2 separate regions of the Homo sapiens genome follow, and region 1 is linked to region 2. Evidence: promoter capture Hi-C in 16 types of primary human blood cells and fetal thymus (Javierre and others, 2016). All regions are on one chromosome and are shown on one strand. Each heading gives the region's core, a stretch centred on a gene start or on the middle of the fragment in contact. The rest is flanking DNA. Distances are from core to core; before and after follow the strand shown.

Evidence for each region. The method cuts DNA at HindIII sites, captures the fragments that hold promoters and counts their contacts. A CHiCAGO score of 5 or more calls a contact.
Region 1: a contact is called between the fragment with the promoter of TGDS here and the fragment with the promoter of TPP2 in region 2, in 1 of 17 cell types (total CD4 T cells). The highest score is 6.2, in total CD4 T cells.

What each region holds. Positions count from the first base shown.
Region 1 is chr13:94,592,706-94,598,685 of GRCh38, reverse strand. It overlaps TGDS (TDP-glucose 4,6-dehydratase), which reads left to right and starts at 2,534. Exons shown (of 12, transcript NM_014305.4): 1 at 2,534-2,635; 2 at 4,779-4,845. The coding sequence starts at 2,550. RefSeq lists an enhancer at 2,361-2,670. The HindIII fragment of the contact is 5,991 bases long and covers 1-5,327 here.
Region 2 is chr13:102,591,973-102,598,334 of GRCh38, reverse strand. TPP2 (tripeptidyl peptidase 2) reads right to left here and starts at 1,349. Exons shown (of 30, transcript NM_001330588.2): 1 at 1,132-1,349. The coding sequence starts at 1,296. LOC107984588 (a long non-coding RNA gene) reads left to right here and starts at 1,393. Exons shown (of 2, transcript XR_001749984.3): 1 at 1,393-1,887; 2 at 3,934-4,998. RefSeq lists silencers at 836-1,125, 1,286-1,575, 6,122-6,297 and enhancers at 1,646-1,705, 1,756-1,915, 5,339-5,886, 5,767-6,096, 6,127-6,346 and 1 more. The HindIII fragment of the contact is 7,622 bases long and covers 1-4,446 here.

The DNA.
Region 1 (5,980 bases), core at 1,285-3,784, 8.0 Mb after region 2:
TCTCTACTAAAAATACAAAAACTAGCCAGGTGTGGTAGCATGCGCCTGTAATCCCAGCTACTTGGAGGCTGAGATGGGAGAATCGCTTGAACCTGGGAAGCAGAGGTTGCAGTGAGTCAAGATTGTGGCACTGCACTCCAGGCTGGGCAACAGAGCGAGACTGTCTCAAAAAAACAAAAGTATATAAAGTAAAAATTAAACTCCCCATTTCCTCCTTTCCCTGCCCATATCTCATCCCTAAAGGTAACTTATTTTAAGAGTTTAGGGTCAATCCTTTCAAGTAAGCCACAAATACCACAAATATATGTGGTATTACAAATACCACAAATATATGTGGTATTTGTAAACCAAGGACAGGAATAAAACTGGTCCTGAAGAGAAATCATAACACAGGCCTTGAATGTTAGGCCTTTCCTATCTTTTCTTTCTTCTCAATCAACTTTGTTTTTCTCACTGTGAAGACAGGCTTTCTGGCTCCTCACTTTGAAAGAACATGGCCACCAAAAAGTTCCAGCTTTGTAGGACCTCAGAGTTCAAGTAGAGTAACCAGACTATACTAGCACCTTAGTCGAATTCTAAATCCCAAGAAGAGGCTTCAGTTGGCCTAGAGTCAGCCAGATTTCATTCTGTGGCCTGCCTGGGTCAACTTGGGGAGATCATAAAGGACAGTGGGGGGAGGAGTCTGGTCAGAAAAAAACTGTACGTATCGACTGCAATATATTTTGGTCTTCATTCCATGTTGGTATATTCTTTTTAAAGGCTATATAGCAGTTTACTGCATTTTAAAAGTTAGAAGACATTATACACATTTAGATTATTTCCAGTGTTTCATTATTGCAAGCAATACAGCAATGAACAATTATCTATATTATACATCATGGAATTTGAGGGGGTCATAGAATATGAACATTTGAAATTTTCATATGTTTTACCACTTTGCCTTGTAAAAAGGTTGTGGTATGATTCTTCCACATATACACCTGTACTGGATGTTTCCATTCGTTTTCAGCTTTGCCAAACATTATGGTGGGGAAAAAAAGATATTTATCTATTCGACAATATTTAATGGTCATTTATTCTGTGCCAAGTCTCTAAGGACATGCGATTACAGCAGAAAACAAAACAAAGCCCCTGACCTCATGGAACACTAAACAGAGGGCAGTGACATCAATGTAAATGTTGAGTGCTAGGAAGAAAAATAAAGAAGGATAAGATGATTCGGCAGGGTTGGGCAGAGCTCGCTATTTTAATTGTGGTGGTCAATAGGATGCCATTCAAGCTGAAAACGGAAGTAAGGGTAAAAACTAGGCAGACATCTGGGGAAAGACAATCAAGGTCCCGGGGAAGTAGCATGCCTGGCACATTGAATGAAGAGCAAGGAGGGTGGGGAGGCTGGGGCGGAGTGAGCAAAGGAGAGAATAGAATAAGACATCAGCGTAGGACCTAGGGAATATCTTTATCATGATTGCAAGCCTTCTGCGCTGTCTGTAATAATAATATTATTATTTTTTGAGACGGAGTTTTGCTGTTGTTGCCCAGGCTGGAGTGCGATGGTGCGGTCTCGGCTCACTGCAACCTCTGCCTTCCGGGTTCAAGCAATTCTCCTGCCTCGGCCTCCCAAGTAGCTGGGATTACAGGCGCCCGCCACCACGCCCGGCTAATTTTTGTATTTTTAGTAGAGACAGGGTTTCACCATGTTGGCCAAGCTGGTCTCGAATCCTGACCTCAGGTGATCCGCCCACCTCGGCCTCCCAAAGTCCTGGGATTACAGGCGTAAGCCACGGCGCCCGGCCTGAAATAATATTAACAACAGCAAAAGATCATTTTGCAGGCCAGGCACGGTGCTCACGCCTGTAATCCCAGGACCTTGGGAGGCTGAGGCGGGAGGTTGGCTAGATCCCAGGAGTTCGAGACCAGCCTGGACAACAGGGCGAAACCCATCTCTACCAAAAATTAGGCGGGCGTGGTGGCGCACGACTGTATTCCTAGCTACTCAGGAGGCTGAGGTGGGAGGATTGCTTGAGCCCCATTGGTCGACGCTGCAGTGAGCCGTGATCGCACCACTGCACTCCAGCCTGGGTAACAGAGGGAGACCCTGTCCCCGCCCCACTAAAAAAAAAAATCATTTTTAAATTGCAACCTCCCATCTCCATCTGCAACAACTCCCCGTTCTCAGCTCAACTGATAGGTAACCTCTAGAGATGGCTGTAGTACAAGAATGAAAAAAGGTACTCATTCATAAATCTGATCCATAGTGGTGGCATTTCCGGGAAAAACGTTCCATACCCCTACCATCCGGGCGACCCCAATTGCACCTGGCGGACCAGGCAAGGGCGGAAAGGAGCAGCGCCTGCGCGTGGTGAGCGCGGCCCCGCCCAGCCCGCTAGTGGGCGGGCAGAAACTGGCCACAGAGCAGTCTCCGGAAGCTGCCTCTGGCTGCTCTGTTAACGTGTCCCGCGAGCGAGGCGCGTCGCAAAAGGTCGCGGCGGAACTTCCCTGCGCTTTTCAGACCATACTCTTTACGGTACTAGGCACTGCTGAGCTGGGAGATGTCGGCGGCGTGTTGGGAGGAACCGTGGGGTCTTCCCGGCGGCTTTGCGAAGCGGGTCCTGGTGACCGGCGGTGCTGGTTTCATGTAGGTAATGGCGCCGCTAGCCAAGCAGTGGCTCCCCAGAAACCCCTACCTTTTCCCGCAGCTCTGCTTGCCCTAGGTAATTTGGGTCCAGCTTTGAGGGGTCCTTATTCTGATATGGGGAGGGTCCTAATGCACGACCTGGACCAGCTTTTCTCTCTCTGGCCTGCAAAGAAGTGGTTCCTTTGAAACTGACTTCTTTAAAACGCCTCTTCCAAAGCTGCGTTACTCTCCGCCCTTCTGTGGCCGGAGGTGCTCACCATGTCACTCCTTGAGTGCGTGCAAGTTACCCTAAGCTGCTCACCGACTGCTTCCCACCTCCAGCCTAGAGCACCCACACCCCACGATGGGCCCTGTACATATAGGCACCCCCAAAACGATTTAAGGACTATAATAGGACATCTATGTAATCAGCAAACTTTTACAAATCCACTGTTGACACCCTTTTCTTCCTCAGACCCACATTCGAGCAGCAAGTCCTCTCTACTTCCAAAGTATATCCTTACGGCGACCACTTCTCACCAGTTTCCCGTTTCCACCCTAGCCCATGTTTACTGTCATCTTTTGCCTCGACTGCTGCTGTAGCCTCTTGGTTGGCCATAACTGCGTCCACTCATGTTCCTTTAAAGCCTGTTGCTCACATACAAGTCAGTGTTTCTTAAGTCAATCAGATCATGGTAGAAGCAGGATTTTACTTCAGTGGTTCCTGCCACACTTAAGAATAAAGCCCAAACTCTACCATATCTAGAAAACTCAAGTGCCCAAGCCCTACTTTTGCAACCTGATCTGCTTTTCTGTACCTGCCATGCTTCCCCTCTTAGTTCTTGGAACACACCAAGATACACACTTCTGTCTTGAGGCCTTTGCACTTGCTTCCCCTTTCCTTAGGCTGTTTGCACCACTCAATTCTGGTTTTTATTCAGATAGCACCTCAGAGAGTTCTTACCTGACCACCATATCTAAAATAGCCCCTCTCCCAACTAGCACACTTAACCTCTACCTGAAATTATATTGCGGATTTGTGTCTGCTTGTTTATTGCTTGTATCCCCACTCTAAAATGCAAACTCGGTAAGGACAGAGACTACTGTTCATTCAGCACCTGGAAGAATGCCTGGCCCATTCTATATAAGTCTTTAGTAATTGTGGAATGGATGAATGCAAGAGTAATAAACAGGAAACTCTCCTATCCTCCCCTCAAGGAACTCAGTGGCTAGTGGAAGAAGTGGGAATGTGAGGATTCCTGTTTATGGCCATTTGCACATTAAATCACCCCTTCTAATCCGACAAGTCATTTGGGGGAGAGCATCAGGCTGGCAAGTTTCACTTAATGAGAAAGAGGACTATGGACATGAAAGGGTGATACTTGTGTGAGAGTGCGGGTCCAGGAAGGGTGCGACTTAGAAAGTGCTGTGAAAGGAATGCCGAATACAAACTTCAAGTTCATAATTTGGTCAAGGGCTCCCCTCTCCTGGGAGCCCAACATTTTAAGTATACATGGTAAATCTGGTAGATCATTTCACTGAGATATGCCTGTGATTCCCCTTTAGGGTCCTCTGAAGCCCAGGACCCACTGTGGATATCCAACTCAGAATGGTTTCAGCTGTTATTAGCCTGGGAATCCTGGGTTTAGTCTAGAAGCCTCCTGAGGATTCTGGTTTAACATTACCAAAATCTTATACCAAGAAATAGCAATTGCAGAAGTTACTATTAAATATAGACAACTGACTATACTCATAGTAATTTCATTTTTACATACTTATATCTGCAGTTCCTGAAAAGGCATGCTATAGGCATGTACAGTTGTGCTGACTAGCTCCCATTTATTGTTCCACTTTACTCGATACTTGTACCTGTATGGATGGCATCGTTTGGTTAAACTGACTTTTTTCCCTATACCCAGAACCAGTACATTCTCTCTTCTGCATAGTCTAAATGGAATGTAAAACTTTTGTTTATAGATACTGTTGAGAAGTTTGGTAAAAAGTTTGCATGTGTGTATATTTAGTGTAGTTATGTTTTCTGTTATCTTAGAAAAAATTAAAGTTATCTTTGAGTATTTTCCTAGTACTCAACACCTTAGGAAAATATTCAAGAGTTTAGGGAAGTTAAAGTTTTTCACTAACAAGATATACTTTTTTTCCATAGTGCATCACATATGATTGTCTCTTTAGTGGAAGATTATCCAAACTATATGATCATAAATCTAGACAAGGTGAGTTTTATAAAAATGAGCATCATGCACTGAAATTACATTTCAATTTATGTTTTCTAAAAGTACTAGAATCTTGTCATGCTGATATTTAAATTTTTTATTTAGTCATTTTAGCAATTCAGAGGCTCTGTATAGTAATGTGCTCATGCTGTATTTAATCTTATATAAAAGTTTTTGAAACCTGCATTTCTTATGTTGGTCCACAAAATAAAGTTTTTGTTTTATTTTGTTTTTTTCAGTTGCTACTTTGCAAATGGACTTTTTGGATTTTCATTCAAAAAAACTATAAGAAAAATTCATAAGGCAATTTGGTGATTATAAGCCTTAATTGGATTTTTTTTCTATTTTTTAATTGACATATCTTAGTTGTACTTGTTATGGGGCATATGGTGATGTTTTGATACATGTATACAATGTGTAATGATCAAATCAGGGTAATTGGGACATCCATCATAAGAAGAACCCTTAACTCTTATGAAGCTTTGCCTGACTTGCTATTATGGACAGGAATTTTTTCTGTATCACCAATATACCAACAGTTTGAGGAATAGGTATAATGAATTATAATATGTATAACACAGGTGTAATTATTTTCAATCACTAATTCCTTTTCTGTAAGAAATGGTAAACTTTTCTAGCCACCAGTGGCTACAGGCAAATTTTGGCATGAACATTTTTTTTTTTCTTTGAAATGGACTCTCACTCTGTTGCCAGGCTGGAGTGCAGTGGCACAATCTCAGCTCACTGCAACCTCCACCTCCTGGGTTCAAGCGATTCTCCTGCCCCAGCCTCCTGAGTAGCTGGGATTACAGGCACATGCCACCAAGCCCAGCTAAATTTTGTATTTTTAGTAGAGATGGGGTTTCACGATGTTGGCCAGGATGGTCTCAATCTCTTCACCTGTGGTCCGCCCTCCTCAGTCTCCCAAAGTGCTGGGATTACAGGCATGAGCCACCACCCCCAGCTAGGAACATTTTTTAAAGTAGAGATTTATGAAAAGGTTTTTGTTTTGTTTTGTTTTTTGGTACTTTGAAAAGGTAACAATTACTTGTTTTTTACTTTTAAGATGTCAGAAACTTAAAATGTGTAAAAACAGGCTGGGCTCACGCTTGTAATCCCAGCACTTTGGGAGGCT
Region 2 (6,362 bases), core at 100-2,599:
CAGAAGGGAAGGGACATTGTGGGGAGGAGGATGAGTGTTTAGTGTAGAAAGGAGGATAAGATAGCCAGGGGCTGATCAACGAGAGATCAGCATACAGTAGGATTAGTCAGGGATGCTGGGAGATGGATCTTGAATAACGGTGAAATTTTATTACTGGATTTCAGTAAAGGGTTAAAAGTACAAAAGTTAAACTTTAAAGACTTTAAACAGAATGCTTTTAACGAGAGACAACATACTTTCAAAAAAACTACCTTCTGGTATGATACCTTGAATCTACAGATTTTAAAGTTGCCTAAGGCAAAAAACTAAGTAATTTTTAAAAACCGTCGTATGTTTTCAGGTTTAAAAAAAAAAAAGTCGCATATTTTCATAAGGTCTGAGAAGCTCGCCAAAACCAAACCTAACTGAATTCTCCTTATGTAAACGAAGACTAAGCCACAAGATTCAATGACCCTAAGCAAACACGCTGCAGAAGACCGTTTAAAAATAGAATACACAAAACTACCACAGGAAACAATTCCGGAAGAGGACTGGGTTATCTTCTGGAAACCCAGCTTTCGTGCTTAAAGACAAACTATTCTTCCCCAAACCAAATCTCCCGATCCCTAAACATTAAGTTCTCACATGTCAGTTGCCTATCTGGTGTCTCCACCCCACCCCAATGATAAAAGCTGTAAAATTCTCTTTAAAAACGTCAGGCTGGGACCGGTGTCCGAGGCACGAGGGGTAGGCAGAGGAAGGCGGCGTGGAGGGAAGGAGCCTGGGGGGTCCGGCCTGGCAGCGCCGAAGCGAGAAGGAAGGGGAGTCCCTGGGGCCAAAGGGGGACCCAGGCTTCCCCAGGCAGCCGCGCCGGGCACGCTGCTTTTGTTGAGCTGGGGGGACCACGGCCCAACCTGGGGTCCGGGCCCTCGCCCGCCCAGCGACCCTGGCACTGTGCGCCGTTGAGTCCCCTTGGCGGGCGCCCGTCCCTCCCGCGCCTGGCTCTGACCTCTGCCCACCCCGGTGCTGCCCACCCCGGCCCGGACTCGGCCGCAGAGCGGGGCTTTGGCCTGCCGGGCTCCGAGACTGTGTCCCCACCCGCGTCCCCGGCCGCCCGCGCCCCCGCGCCCGGGCCCTCGGGGGCCGCCTCACCTGCATGCCCGGAGCCCCCGGGTCGACCCCCGTGTCCAGGACTGCGATGAGCACCCCCCGCCCATCATACTCCGGGTAGCGGCAGAGGAAGGAGGCGGCTCCGGTCTCCTTCTTCGGCAGGAGACCGTGAAAAGGGAAGGGCTCCTCAGTCGCAGCGGTGGCCATGGACGCAGGATGGAGGACGAGGAAGCGGCAAACTGCCAGGCTGCGCGCGGACTAGCAGCGCGAGGACACCCGTGCGGCCTCGGGCCGGAGGCGGGGGCGAGGGGCGGGGTCGGCCCGTCTTCCACCAATCCCGGCCTGCCAGGGAGCGGTGGCCAATCACGTGCTGCTACGTAAGCCAACGGCGCCGCTCTCAGGAGCTAGGCCCGAGTATTGCCCGGGCTGCAGTGAAGGGGGAGGAGTCTGAGGACATTACTGGAGGGTTCGGATCTCGAACCTGGGGCCTTGAAGAGGCCCGCGCTTGGGGTTTTTAGGCAACAGCAGGCCTCCAAGCAGAGTCCTGGTGTCCCGGACCGAATCACTCCCCGAGAGACGGGCAAGGAGATGGACCGCCAGCCAGGAATAATGGGAACCCTTCGCTTGGCAAACGATAGTTTCCAAACTTAAGGTTGTGGATGAAACTTTTTGGTGCGGCTGCTGCAGGAGCCCCAGCCCCGGGGTGCTGCTGACCCGAGGCAAGGGAGCCGGCGCACTCACGCTTAGCCGCTAAGGAGTCTGCGGTGTCGGCGAAAGCTCCGGACATGATTTTGGAAGGTCGTAGGTTAAGGGGTGTAGACTTTGGGTTCCCCTGTGTTGTTATGCCCCTTTGATGGGGGTGAGGTGGTGAGGGGGAGCAATAGGGTGGAGACAGGCAATAGTTTCAGTCAACAGGAAGTGGGTTGTTGGTCATTCCGTCGCCTTTGTAGCCAGTAACAAAGCACGAGACTGAAATGGGCCCCTCCTATCCTCTGCTGATCCTTAGCTTCCGGGATTTCTGAAAAACATCTTTTTTTTTCCTCTTACACTGAAGTTTCTGATTGCTCCTTACGGCTGTCCACTCAATTATAGAGCCATAATTTTCAGTTTTCCAGATTCACAGTGCCTGCCGTCAGTTGCTGCAAGCTGCATAGTGGTCCTCTAATGATCTTTATGTCTATGCTCATGCCAGGGTAATCTTAGCCTTTTATTGTGCCGAAGACCCCTTTGGCAATCTGGTGAGGCCTATTTCTCAAGCAGTGTTTTAAAATGCATACAATGAAATAGATAGGATTACCCAGGAAATAAATTATGTTTAAATGCAGTTATCAAAAATACTAAAGGCAATTTTGTTATATAGCAGGAGCTTTACGTGTGTGTGTATAGTTACAGGTGTACTTCTTTTGCATTAAATAACAGGAGCTAGGGCCAAGGCTAATAAACTACCATAACTTCAAAATAGTGAAGAATATAATTATTTGGAGATAGCGGTGAAAACTGCACTACGATGAACTGATTTTTATTGGTGACATAACAGCATAACTACCCTGGTTTTTGCCTACATTCATACTTGATGTGAAAAAAATTAAGAGGTTTGTATCTTTTTTCTACGGAAGTTTTTGAACCCCTTGGATTCTGTCTATGGACACCAAGTTAAGAATACCTGGTATAAAGGAAAGCCTTATGCATGCGGTTTCCAACCCACAGAATTTCAGAGATCCTCCATTAAGTCTCAAAAATTATTCTTATGGCTGTGCAATGGTTTCAGCTGATTCCTTGATCATTTATTCAGTCCATAAGTCTTACACAAGCATGTTCTCTTTAGTGCAGAGGAAAAAGAAAAGTTGAATGTTTTTCTTCTTATTCCCAACTGTTTACATTACCTCTAGAAAAGAATTTCAAATTAACACAGACGAAAACAGAATAACAAACTCGCAGAAGACATTCAGTATAGAGCTTATAGTGATAGAACAGAATGGCTCCCAGTTTCAAGTGAACCATAGTCCAATCACTTCATTTTATAGATGAAGAAACAAAGTTAACTGACTGTCATGGATTACAAAACAGGTTGATGAAAACACGGGATTTGTCTTCTCACAATCTCTCCCCAGTATGTTCTACCACACCATGTGCATGACTTTGCCAGAGTATCACCCAATGAATAAATGGGGAATGAACAGTTTATTATGAAACCTAGGTGGCAGACTTTTTATTAGACTGCCGTAACAATGTTCTTTAGATTTTTCTTTTCCTTTCCTTTTCTTTTTCTTTTTTGACACAGAGTCTCACTCTGTGGCCCAGGCTGGAGTGCAATGTCACAATCTCGGGTAACTGTAACCTCCGCCTCCCGGGTTCAAGCAGTTCTCCTGCCTCAGCCTCCCGAGTAGCTGGGATTACAGGTGCATGCCACCACACCTGGCTAGTTTTTGTATTTTTAGTAGAGACGGGGTTTCGCCATGTTGGCCAGGCTGGTCTTGAACTCCTGACCTTAGGGGATCCACCCACCTCGGCCTCCCAAGGTGCTCAGATTACAGGCATCAGCCACTGCACCCGGCCAGATTTTTCTTTTTTTGCTTACATATCCCATAAACATGTTTTTAAAAAAGTTATGTATCCCTTTGTACAGCTGTAAAATGAAGTCTAAATTTGTCACAATTTTTTTTTTTTTTTTTGAGATGGAGTTTTGCTCTTCTTGCCCAGGCTGGAGTGCAATGGCGGGATCTCGGCTCACTGCAACCTCCACCTCCCGGGGTTCAAGTGATTCTCCTGCCTCAGCCTCCCAAGTAGCTGGGATTACAGGCATGTGCCACCACACCCAGCTAATGTTTGTATTTTTTTAAATAGATACGGGGTTTCTCCATGTTGATGTCAGACTGGTCTCGAACTCCCGACCTCAGGTGATCCACCCGCCTCGGCCCCCCAAAGTGCTGGCATTACAAGCGTGAATCACTGCGCCCGGCCTATCATAAATTTTAAAAATTATAAAGGATGTAATTTCTGGCATAGTATAAATATCGTCATTATTTAATGAAACTTTCACGTTTCTCATGTAAATATACCCAGTTGAGTGTAACTCTGATAGCTACCATCAACTATTTATAAAATATCTGAACACTTAAAAGCAGACATTTTATATCACTATTTCTTCTGGAAACTTTATTTCCATTCTATATGGAATTTTTTCTCATTGTAATTTGCATTTATAATGGAAAGGCATATTGATAATGTATCATCATCTGCAATAAAAATATATTAATTTTAAAAATTTTCCTGGAAGAAAAATGTTAAACTTATTCTTTTGGGTTATCTTTCAGTTATTACAAAGTTGATTACAACAACATGAGTAAGTCTTAAGCTTTGATTAAAAATTACAGGACAAAAAAATTTTTATTGAAAATAGAGCTCTTAAAAAGATGCTTGGTATAAATAAGTCATGCTTCTGTTAATGACAGGACTAGTTAAAAGGATAAGATTTGTATGTCTGTGTCTCTTGTAAAATTGAATCATCAATTCTTAAGAAGCGAAACCAGGATATATAAGTATTACATAATATGCCCAGAAAGTAATGTGAACAAAATTCAGACGTACGTTGAAGCTCCCATTTTAAGAATCACTCATATGACAAATGTCATCTTTTGCTCTATAACCTTTGCTTAAATTGTAGAAAAGATGGATTTAATGAGACAAATGAAAAGTGGTTTAACATAACACACAGCAGAGCATATGCTGTTATGCTTTGGTGTTTGTTCCCTAGCCCTTGTTCCTCATAATAGATTGTGGAATGTTTCAAAAATGCTGTAACTTTTTTTTGCTAATTGTGGTCTTAACAAAAATTGTTCTTGATTTTAAAAAAAGATGGATAGGATTGGTTATTGAACTTTGATATTAAATAAAGTTTTAGTGATAGTATTTCAAATTGTCCCGTTATTTGATGCCCCAGAGGCTATTACACCTGCAGGTGGTGCATAATAGTAAGATTCGGGATGTGTTCCTTTTCCCTAAAAGGTGGGAGACCCAGCACTGAAATAGGTGCAAAAGAGAATCATGTCTTTCCGCCACAGGCACGCTGCCAGGCAGATAAGCTTAGAAAAAAGTGGTTGACTTCAGGCATCTGGAAATTGATTTCATCGAAACTATCCATGTACCAGTTTGAAACCCACTATTTTATATAACCCCTGAAATCACTTTAACTCAATACAGTCATTTACTGTTTGTCTTCAAGCCAAATGTTGTACATATTATAAGTGCTTACATTTTTTCCTCCTTTGATTTAATGACATTATCACTGGGGGGAATTTTTAATGCTAAGACAGTTTGTGTGACAGTTCATTGGATATTGGAAACAAGTAGAGAGTATAAGTAGAGAAACATGGATAATCTGTAATAATATATAATAATAAAACAAAAAAAAATGAGGAGGAGGAGGAGAGGCAAAAACAAGGTCAGTAGGCCTAGGCGTTGGTCATCTTATGGAGGGTAAAGTATTAATAATAGGCTGGACGCACAGCAACTTCTCTCACCCAGCATTGTTCAAAGCAGGAAGTGCTGAGTCAGATGTTTTTCCTGTCACCTGCCCCATTTGAGGCTGCAATCCAAGGCACAGGTGCTGTGGAAGGCAATAGCTTTCTATGAATCGCCTTCCTTGCAACTATTGCTGCAGCCTATCGTTTAGAGAATATTTTAAAATTTAATTTTCCAAGACTCTAGAGATTGCATAAGCATCCTACATGTGCCAGCCGCTGGGCTTTGAAATCTTCCTCTGCCTTGCAGCGAGGCCGCACCTCCCGTGGGCGGCTCCCAGCCCGTGATGGAAGCGAAGGGATGCTGGAGCAGATCTGTTTCGGGAGGCGGGCAATTTCGCGGACTGCTGTCTCAGGCTCCAGGACTCCCCGGCCGGCTTTGCCAAGTTGGACTGCGTGGTGGTCCAGGGCGCTTCCACCCAGCCTCTCTGCCTCTCCTATTTACTCGGCGTCAGACTTGCATCGCGGCCTGATGCCTCTCTCAGCTTTTTGTGGACCCTTGACTACCTGACCTCGCGCAGGCACTAACACGTATCCCTGCTCCTCACAACACGTCCGCCCCCACCCCGAGGACCCGAAACTAAAATAGCTCACACCAAAGAAACAGGTTCGGATGCATGAAGGTTCGCCACTGCTGCCCCCCAAAGGCAAAAGCCGTCGTTACCGTTTCTACCAAAGATAACTGAGTCCAAAAGCCAGGGCGACCTGATCAGCAAAGTTTAAGTTACAAGGCCGTGCCTGGCTGTATGGAAG